Regions from separate parts of the Homo sapiens genome. Here all the other regions are linked to region 3. Evidence: promoter capture Hi-C in 16 types of primary human blood cells and fetal thymus (Javierre and others, 2016). All regions are on one chromosome and are shown on one strand. The core of a region is centred on a gene start or on the middle of the fragment in contact, and the rest is flanking DNA. Distances in the headings are between cores, read along the strand shown.

Region 1 (2,700 bases), core at 118-2,617, about 11 Mb after region 3:
TTCTGTCTCAAATACCTTCTAAATTTTTCAAAATGATACCTTAAGAACAAACAGCAGGCAAAAAGTCTAAAAATCAAGATTTAAAACATTATTAGAAGGTGTTGCATGTTAACAGTACCAAGGAATTCCAGGTTACCATAAAGGCATTCATCATCAGAAAGGGTGACCTTTGGACAGTTTGCCAAAAACCAGGGCTTCCGAAATACGGGCATTTCGACAGAAGTCGATATTAAGTGGAAAGACAGGTTTTCTGAAAACGGCACGCAATTTTTGTCATTTGCTCCCGGGTTCTTCCAATATGGGAATGCGTCAAATGTACGTGTCCAGGTGACACTGGGACTCGGTTTCGTTTCGTTTATGTGTCCCCCTCCTCCCACTCAGGGTGGCCCCAGAGACAGCACAAGTCGGTCTGAACCCACTCCGAAGATATGCGATTCGACTGTGGAAAAGCCATTCCACATCACTGTGAAACCCTTGACCGAGGGCCAGTTCGGAGGAGCTGGTGACGGTGGAAAGAGATAAAAGCCATCCGCGAGGGAGTGAAACAAACCGACACGCGGCTCCCTGCGGCAGCTGAACCTCATCTCCCTTCCTCCACCTCCCTCTTCCCCATATGGACCCTGCCAGCTGCAACCGAGGTTTTTAACCCCAATTCACGTGCAAAGCAAGCTTCTTGCAAATACAGACGGAGGTACAAACAGCAGAGTGAGGGCGGGAGGAATATGGGGTACCAGGGAAAGTAGAAGGTGGCGAACGGCAGGGTGGGGTGTTGGGGGGGGGATGAAGCGAAGCAGGCGGCATTGTTGTGCCCCGGGAAGGGGACGGAAGGGGAGGATGGGCCTGGCAGAAAAGCTCTAAATCAAAGTAGGGGCTAGGGGAGTAAAAGAGGCACAAAAAAGCAGCGAGAGGGGCGAGGGAAAAGCCAAGTGGGTCTCTGTGATGGATTCCCCAAGCCCCGGGGCCTACCCAGGGCACCGGCAGCCCCTCGGCCCCTAACGGCGAAGGGGACCGCGCCGCGGCCCTCGCGGCTCGTCCCCTCCTTCGCTCCCCGGCCCACACAAAGAAAGAGCCGGAGGAGCTGAGCCTCCGACTCTGCCGCTTCCTGGTTCAAGTGAGGCGAATGCAAACGCAGGCGCGGCCCAGGGACGGAGAAGGCAAGCGCGCTCCTTCGCCCCCTCCCTGATTGGGGCCGGGTCCTCACCTGCTTCCCGGCGCCGCCGCTTCTCCTCCTCCGGACGCGCGGAAGGCTGGGAGTCCCCCAACAAGAAGAAGCCGCACTCCCCAGCGATTCTGCCCCTTCTTTAAACGTCGCTCCAGTCTGGGTCGACGTCGACGCGGCCGCCGCCTCCTGCCGCCAACGCTGCTACAGCTGCCCCACGCCGCCGACAGAGGGCACAGCGCGGGGGCGAAGCGCTGAAGCCAAAGGCGCCCTCCTCTTCCGAGCGCAGGCCGGGGTGGTCCGGAAGGGCCCGAGCTTGAGGCGGCTCCACTTCGGCGCCGTGCTCTGCCTTCGGTTCTTTCCGCAAGGGGGCGGAGGAAGACTGGGAAGCTCTTGTGTGTTCGGCTCTTTCCGGAGGGCTAACGGGTGGGAAAAAAGGAAAGGGAAAGATCGGGTAAGACAGTCGCAAGCAATTGGATGGAAGGGAAGCGAGTCGTTTTCATCGAAATTCAATGTGAACTTCTAGGGCATACAAACTTTTAGAGACTATACAGGTTTCATTTATTTTGCAAGTTTGAATCTGCTCTATTAGACTGTTTGCTAGATGATAAACCATCTTGAAATATAATCAAAATACATACAATCAAATAGAAATTCACAACTTCTTATGGTAATTCAAGTTCTGGGATAACAAGAGAGCAACTACATTACAGTAACTACTTTTAAGAAAGAAATTTAGTGTTTGGACAACTATCTTCTTAATTGAATACTAAATGGTGCAGTACTATGTTAATTCCCTCATTCCAACTAGCATTTACTGACCCCCTGCTTGATCTGTAGCAAAAACCCTATGTTAGGCTCTCGGGAATACAAAAATGAATAACCCAAAGGTCTCTACCTCTTTAGGGAGCTCAGTAGGTAGGTACACAAACATGGACAAAAATATTTGTACAAGGTGTAGAAGCAGAGAGAAGAGAATAGCAAATTGAATGCTGTCATTTGACCTGTATCTTGAAAGATTAATAATATTAACACTTGCATTTTTAATTTTTTATTGTTACTATTTTAATTTTTTATTATTACTATTTCCATAACATTTCATCTTCAGAGGGCTTTAGTGTCTGACACATAGTATGTGTTCAGTGATTGTTTAATGACCGAAAAAATACATTGTGAGTTACATAATTTTTTAAAATCCTCTGGTAATACCCTTCCAACTGAGTACCATAATAAATGAAGCAACAGGATGGGTGTTTGGAGAGCAAAATGTTTCCCTTTTAGGCTGGTTATTGATCGTATTCAACTAAGGAACCAAATAGTAACTTTTTTTCTGCCATAATTAAGGCCATTCACTACCTTCATTATCTTTTTAAAAAGATATATATAGGATAATACTGCATTCATTTCCAAAATCTTAAATTTGTACCTATTAATACCTTGCAGTGGAATTCCTGTGCTTCTTTCCTAAAAAATCTTGCTGAAAATGTCCATCAGGATATTAGACTGAAAACAGATGTAACTATATCTAATTTTCTCTGACA
Region 2 (2,700 bases), core at 122-2,621, about 10 Mb after region 3:
CTGTATGATACTTTAACAGTAGATACTTGACATGTATTTGGGAAAAACCATAAAACTGTAGAATACAAAGAGTAAACCCTAATGTAAACTAAGGACTTGCGTTAATAATAATGTATCAATGCTGGTTCAATTGTTACAAATGTATCATTCCAAAACAAGATGTTATTCATAGGGGAATCTGAACTGGGGAGAGGGAACTCTATTCTTTCTGCTTACTTTTTCTGGAAACCTAAAACTGCTCTAAAAAATAAAAGCCTGTTAATTTAAAAAAAAACTACAAGGGGATGAGGAGAAGTTGGTTAAGGGGTATAAAAATACAGGTCGATAAGTTCTAGTATTCGAGAGTACAATAAGGAAATTATATTTAACAATGATTTACTCTATATTTCAAAATAGCTAGAAGAATTGTAATCTTCTCAACACAAAGATAAACGTTTGAGGTGACAGATACCCTAATTACCCTGATTTGATCATTACACGCTGTATAAAGGTATCAAATATCACATGTACCCCTAAAATATGTACAACTATTATAAATATATATAGGTGGTGGGGGATACAGGCACCACAACAGCAGACAATGTACAGCTATGACGTATCAATTTTTAAAAACTATGTAACAGAGAGCCCAATTTTAAAAAAAAATGCATTTACACACATCACAGGAAATACCTGGACGGAAGGACACTTAGTCAATGCTTTCCCATATATAGACTTTTCTCTATTAGGCAAATAGATACAAATATAAAAGATGAAAATGCTCACAATGCTTATCACAGTTTGTAAATACATATTTGCGTAATTATCTAATTGTTGTTTATTCTCCAAACTAGACTATTAGTTTCTTAAGGACAGAGACAATGTCTTTGCTTCCCATTGTATTCTCAGCACCTAGCTGAATGCCTAGCACATAGTAAGTTCAATAAATATTTGTCTTTTTTTTTTTTTTTTTTTTTTTGAGACTAAGTCTCGCTCTTGTTCCCCAGGCTAGAGTGCAATGGCGTGATCTCTGCTCACTGCAACCTCCGCCTCGCGGGTTGAAGTGATTCTCCTGCCTCAGCCTCCCGAGTAGCTGGGATTACAGGCACCTGTGACCACGCCCGGCTAACTTTTGTATGTTTAGTAGAGACGGGGTTTCACCATGTTGGCCAGGCTGGTCTCGAACTCCTGATCTCAGGTGATCCACCCGCCTTGGCCTCCCAAAGTGCTGGGATTACAGGCGTGAGCCTCCGTGCCCGGCAATAAATATTTGTTGAATGAATTAATAAATGATCTTTCTTGGGCTTTCTGGAATGCATGAGAGAATCTGCATTTTTCAGATTTACCACAAGATGGGCATTCATTTTAGTTTTACATCCATTATTACCTAGTACTAATAAATAATGAGTCAATTATCAGAAGTCACTCTAAACTCTTTTTGTGTCTTTCAGTATTCCCAAATGCATATTTCTGTTTTTCTCCCCCAGCAGTGTCTTATCTGATTAAATGCATATTTCTTACAAGACTTTACATTTGAATATTGCAATAGGAGTAAAATTTCAAAAAATAAAAATAAAAAAACCTTACATTTGTGAAGTAATCTTAGGGTTGGATAAAAAGGCCCTTCTCTTTGTCTAAAAAAGAGTAATTCTCCATTTACTGTAAGGATTTCTATATGTTCATGGCTGTAAGACAAATGTCACAAAGTACCAAGTTAGATATTTTCTTTCAAAAATTCACAATATAAAACACGCATATACAGTGATAAACTTTCTTAAAAAGTCAGTAAAAATCCTGGCCAAAAAATATTGTTTACATTGTTTTTCCTATCATGCAAGTCCAGTAGAGAAAAAAAGAAAAATATTACCTGCTACAACCAATTTTATTTCACATTTTATTAATTCCATTGTTAGGTAATTCAATAAAACAATTCTCTAAACAACAAACTGAAATAAATTAAATCCAACTCTGAACTAAAACATTTAACTCTTTACTAGAACAATCAATACACAAAGCCACATTTTTTCAGGGACATAGAAAATCTTTGAAAATACAAATATTGGAGTTTTAGAGTTATTCTGTGTCTACCCCATTATTAATCTATCAATAGTTAATCTGAAAATAATTCCATTTAGTATGAGTGCAATCTAATCATTAAATATTCAGCTATACCGAGCTTTACACAGACAAAAACAAAGACTTACCATCGGACTATTTTGACAGGATCTTTCTTAGGCATGATTTGATTAAGCCATGGTTCAATACCTGGAAATTGCTCTATCAATTGATTCTTAATACCCTTAATAACTGAAGTTTTCAACTGGATGCAGTTGGACACATTTTCTTTTTCATCAAATCTGCCAAGTAATTTTTGCAAGAAAAGAAAAGGCATTTCTAAGTAGAGGTATCAGAATACCTAAAGGTACTGTTCTAATTAGTCATTTATTCCCAACCAAGTATTTAGATACTTAATTATGAAATAAATTGTTCTTTTAAAAAAAAATACCATCTCCCTTTTACTCTGTCCAGCACAAAACCAATGTCTTAATACAATATTGAAATAAACTGTCAAGTATACAGCAATTAGCTGGGGTTAGGGGGAGGAATATGAGACATACTTTGCACCATAATCTGTAATTAGCTACACAAATGCCTTTCCTGGAAAATCTTATTCAATTCTACCCAGGAAGAAACACAGGCTCCCACCAATAATAAAACCTG
Region 3 (2,700 bases), core at 20-2,519:
TCCTCTACTACAACTCCCCTCACCTGGATTTTGAGCTACTTGAGGGTAGGGACTATTTTTCCAATTCTGTGGCAACAGTGCCTAGCCCAGAGCTTTGCACAAAGCACTATGCTGAATAAATGGTTGAATTTATTAAATCGTCTTCCTCCTTCACTTATCTTTTTAAAATATTGGGCAATTACCTCAGCAAAATGCAATTCCCCTGTCTTTCCCTTCATTTTACTCGTGAGTCGAAAAGTTGTCCTCATCAAGAAGTTGTAGTAATTCAACTGTAACAAGGCTACAAGGATTCATCTCTAACAGAGAAAAAAAAAGGTCAAAAGTTGGGAGTGAAATTAGCCCTAATAAACAACCATTTTCCTCAACCTTTAAGTCACTTGGAAGTGCTTGGCATTCCCCACCTATGTCTTTATCCAGCTCTTGTAACATATTTTTACTCAAAAGGTTAAGTTTCTTAAAGACACATATAGTTACTCGTTTGTACTTAAGTTGTATTGTCTATCTGTTCTAAATTGTTATTTATAGCAGTTTATGTGGCCACTGTTTTTCATGGCAACAACATAGCTTCATTATGGATTAAATAGGCTTCTTCTGGGCTGGTGTAGATCACATTTCTATGCCTATTTATGACACTGTTTCCAGGGGGAACTATAATTTCCAATTAGAAAAAAATATATACATTCTTCCATACCTTTCAAGTGATTTTAATGCAGGTGGTTCACAAGGAACACACTTTAACAATTTTAAAGGACTATAACTCTCAATTAAAATTCTAAGCTTACCAAAGAATAAACATCATCTTTTGAAAAACACTTAAAACTCAATAACAATTTCAAATCACGATAGAAAGTGCTTCCCGCAAAATGCTAAGAGCTTAACCGACATGAAAATAAATCTAGAGCCTTCGTCTGTCCCCACAAGCACAAACCCATAACCCCAAGAGAGATTCTCTAGACAGTGCACCCAAACTACAATACCCAGAATACCCTTCCCCGTCTGAACGCTGGGGACAATCGGAAGGGGAGGGGAAGAATTGTGCGTATAGAGAAATAAGTGTCCCGCAACTCCATCTCCCATAATTCTCGGTCCTCACTTGTGTCTGTCTGCCAATGTCAACACGAGTTACCCCCAGGAAGAACAGCCTCCAGCGACCTCAAACTACATTTCCCATGAAGCCATGGGCTCGGGCCTCCGGCTTCCCCGGTGACCAGTAGCCAATAGGAGACGCCGCAGTGGGCACCCTGTGTGTGAGAGTCCAGCCTTGGGCCAGAGTGCCGGGTCTAGGCCTGGAAGCGCGAGGCGGGCATTTCGGAAGAGAGTGGCGCGGCGTGGGGCGCCGCGAGGGCACTACGAGCCCAGGAACTGCCGCGCCGGCCCGATTTTCCGCGGCTGTATAAGGACTAGCGCTTCGGTAGCCGGGGAGCTGGAGGTCAGAGAGGCAGAAAGCCCCGGTGGCCGTGGCTGGGGACTGTGGGACTGAGGGGGCCTAGGGAGGAGGGTGCTTCCGGGGCCGCGGTCCTCAGCGCCTAACTCCACCCAGCTCCACCTCTGCAGGGGAGGGGGTATCGGGACTGGGAGTCGGGGGTGGGCTTTTGAGCTCTAGGCGCCAGTTCTCTTGAGCCCGGGAGCGCGCTGTCTTTGCTCTTTTTTTTTTTTTTTTTTGGTCCAACTCGCCCGCCCCTTTTTTTTTTTCCCACGACGCCGCCCCCCTCCCCCTGGCTCTGTGCCTCCTCAGAGGTCCGAAGTTGGGGTTTGCGTCCAGGGTTTTGCCTAGGCGGTGACTGGACTCTAATTCTTACCGCAGGAATTGGGTGATCTCTTTCCTCTTTTCCCTCAATTTGTATTTCAGGTTTGGGCACATAACCCTCCCTGCGCTACACTCCCCATTTTCTTTGGGGCATGGGAATTCCTTGCCACGCTCAGGGCGTGACTTTTTTTTTTCAAACTTTCTCTTTTTGCCTCCTTAATTGATCGCCATCTCTTTACTGGCCCCTCAGCCACCTGCCACTTCCCCCACCAGGTCTTTGAAGTGGGGAGAGTTTCCCCTCAATTTCTAGAAGGGATGGGAAGCAAAAGAGGGAAGGAATCTTGCTTTTGAGAAATGTGTGTTTAAGGTTCAGTGCAGGGTTCTGGTGAGAGTAAAAGGCAAGTTAGACTGGTTATAAAAATCCAGCGCTTTAGGGGTTTCCAGCAAAGACTGATAGCACTAATGTTGACAAACATTTAGGGGGCACACCTTTATTCTACAGAATAAAGTAGACCGTGTGAAACAGACCATATTAATCATTGTATTATTACAAACGTGTGCAAAAAACGCTAAGAGGGGTCAGTGGAAGAGCATACTGATGGGGGTGGTGAGTTCATCTATGGAAGTTCAAGCCTAACCCGGGAAGTGCTGAAGCCCTCATCCGGCTTTCAGGCTTTGTGAAGGAGGTGAATTTTAATCTGGGCTCCAGCAGAGTACAGGGGATTTGAAGTTGTCAAAGAGGAGGGAGAAAATGCTTCCTGCTACTGAGATTGGACTTTGAGAAGGGTAAACAGAAGAGGGAGCACTGTGAGACAGGTGGGCTTGCCTGATTGGAATAAAAGATATCAGCACAAATATACTGGGAAATAAATAGGGTGGAGAAGCTTGGGGTCATAATAACATGATACTTTGAAACATACACATAGTTTGGATATTATTCTGTATCAAATAAA

What was found. Contacts are between HindIII fragments. The CHiCAGO score rates a contact against its expected background, and 5 or more counts as called.
Region 1: a contact is called between the fragment with the promoter of ZBTB33 here and the fragment with the promoter of ENOX2 in region 3, in 4 of 17 cell types (activated CD4 T cells, non-activated CD4 T cells, naive CD4 T cells and 1 more). The highest score is 8.2, in activated CD4 T cells.
Region 2: a contact is called between a fragment that was not itself captured here and the fragment with the promoter of ENOX2 in region 3, in 1 of 17 cell types (naive CD8 T cells). The highest score is 5.6, in naive CD8 T cells.

The regions. Positions count from the first base shown.
Region 1 is chrX:120,249,479-120,252,178 of GRCh38, reverse strand. It overlaps ZBTB33 (zinc finger and BTB domain containing 33), which reads right to left and starts at 1,367. Exons shown (of 3, transcript NM_001184742.2): 1 at 1,202-1,367. It also overlaps a transcript of TMEM255A not described here. RefSeq lists an enhancer at 822-1,660. The HindIII fragment of the contact is 5,064 bases long and covers 672-2,700 here.
Region 2 is chrX:120,605,043-120,607,742 of GRCh38, reverse strand. It overlaps MCTS1 (MCTS1 re-initiation and release factor), which reads right to left. Exons shown (of 6, transcript NM_014060.3): 2 at 2,184-2,336; 3 at 1,567-1,664. Among named protein-coding and RNA genes, the nearest start is that of MCTS1, 2.3 kb to the right of the region's middle. The HindIII fragment of the contact is 3,910 bases long and covers 1-2,700 here.
Region 3 is chrX:130,901,778-130,904,477 of GRCh38, reverse strand. ENOX2 (ecto-NOX disulfide-thiol exchanger 2) reads left to right here and starts at 1,269. Exons shown (of 15, transcript NM_006375.4): 1 at 1,269-1,429. RefSeq lists enhancers at 1,054-1,243, 864-1,383, 1,254-1,523, 1,384-1,903. The HindIII fragment of the contact is 1,854 bases long and covers 780-2,633 here.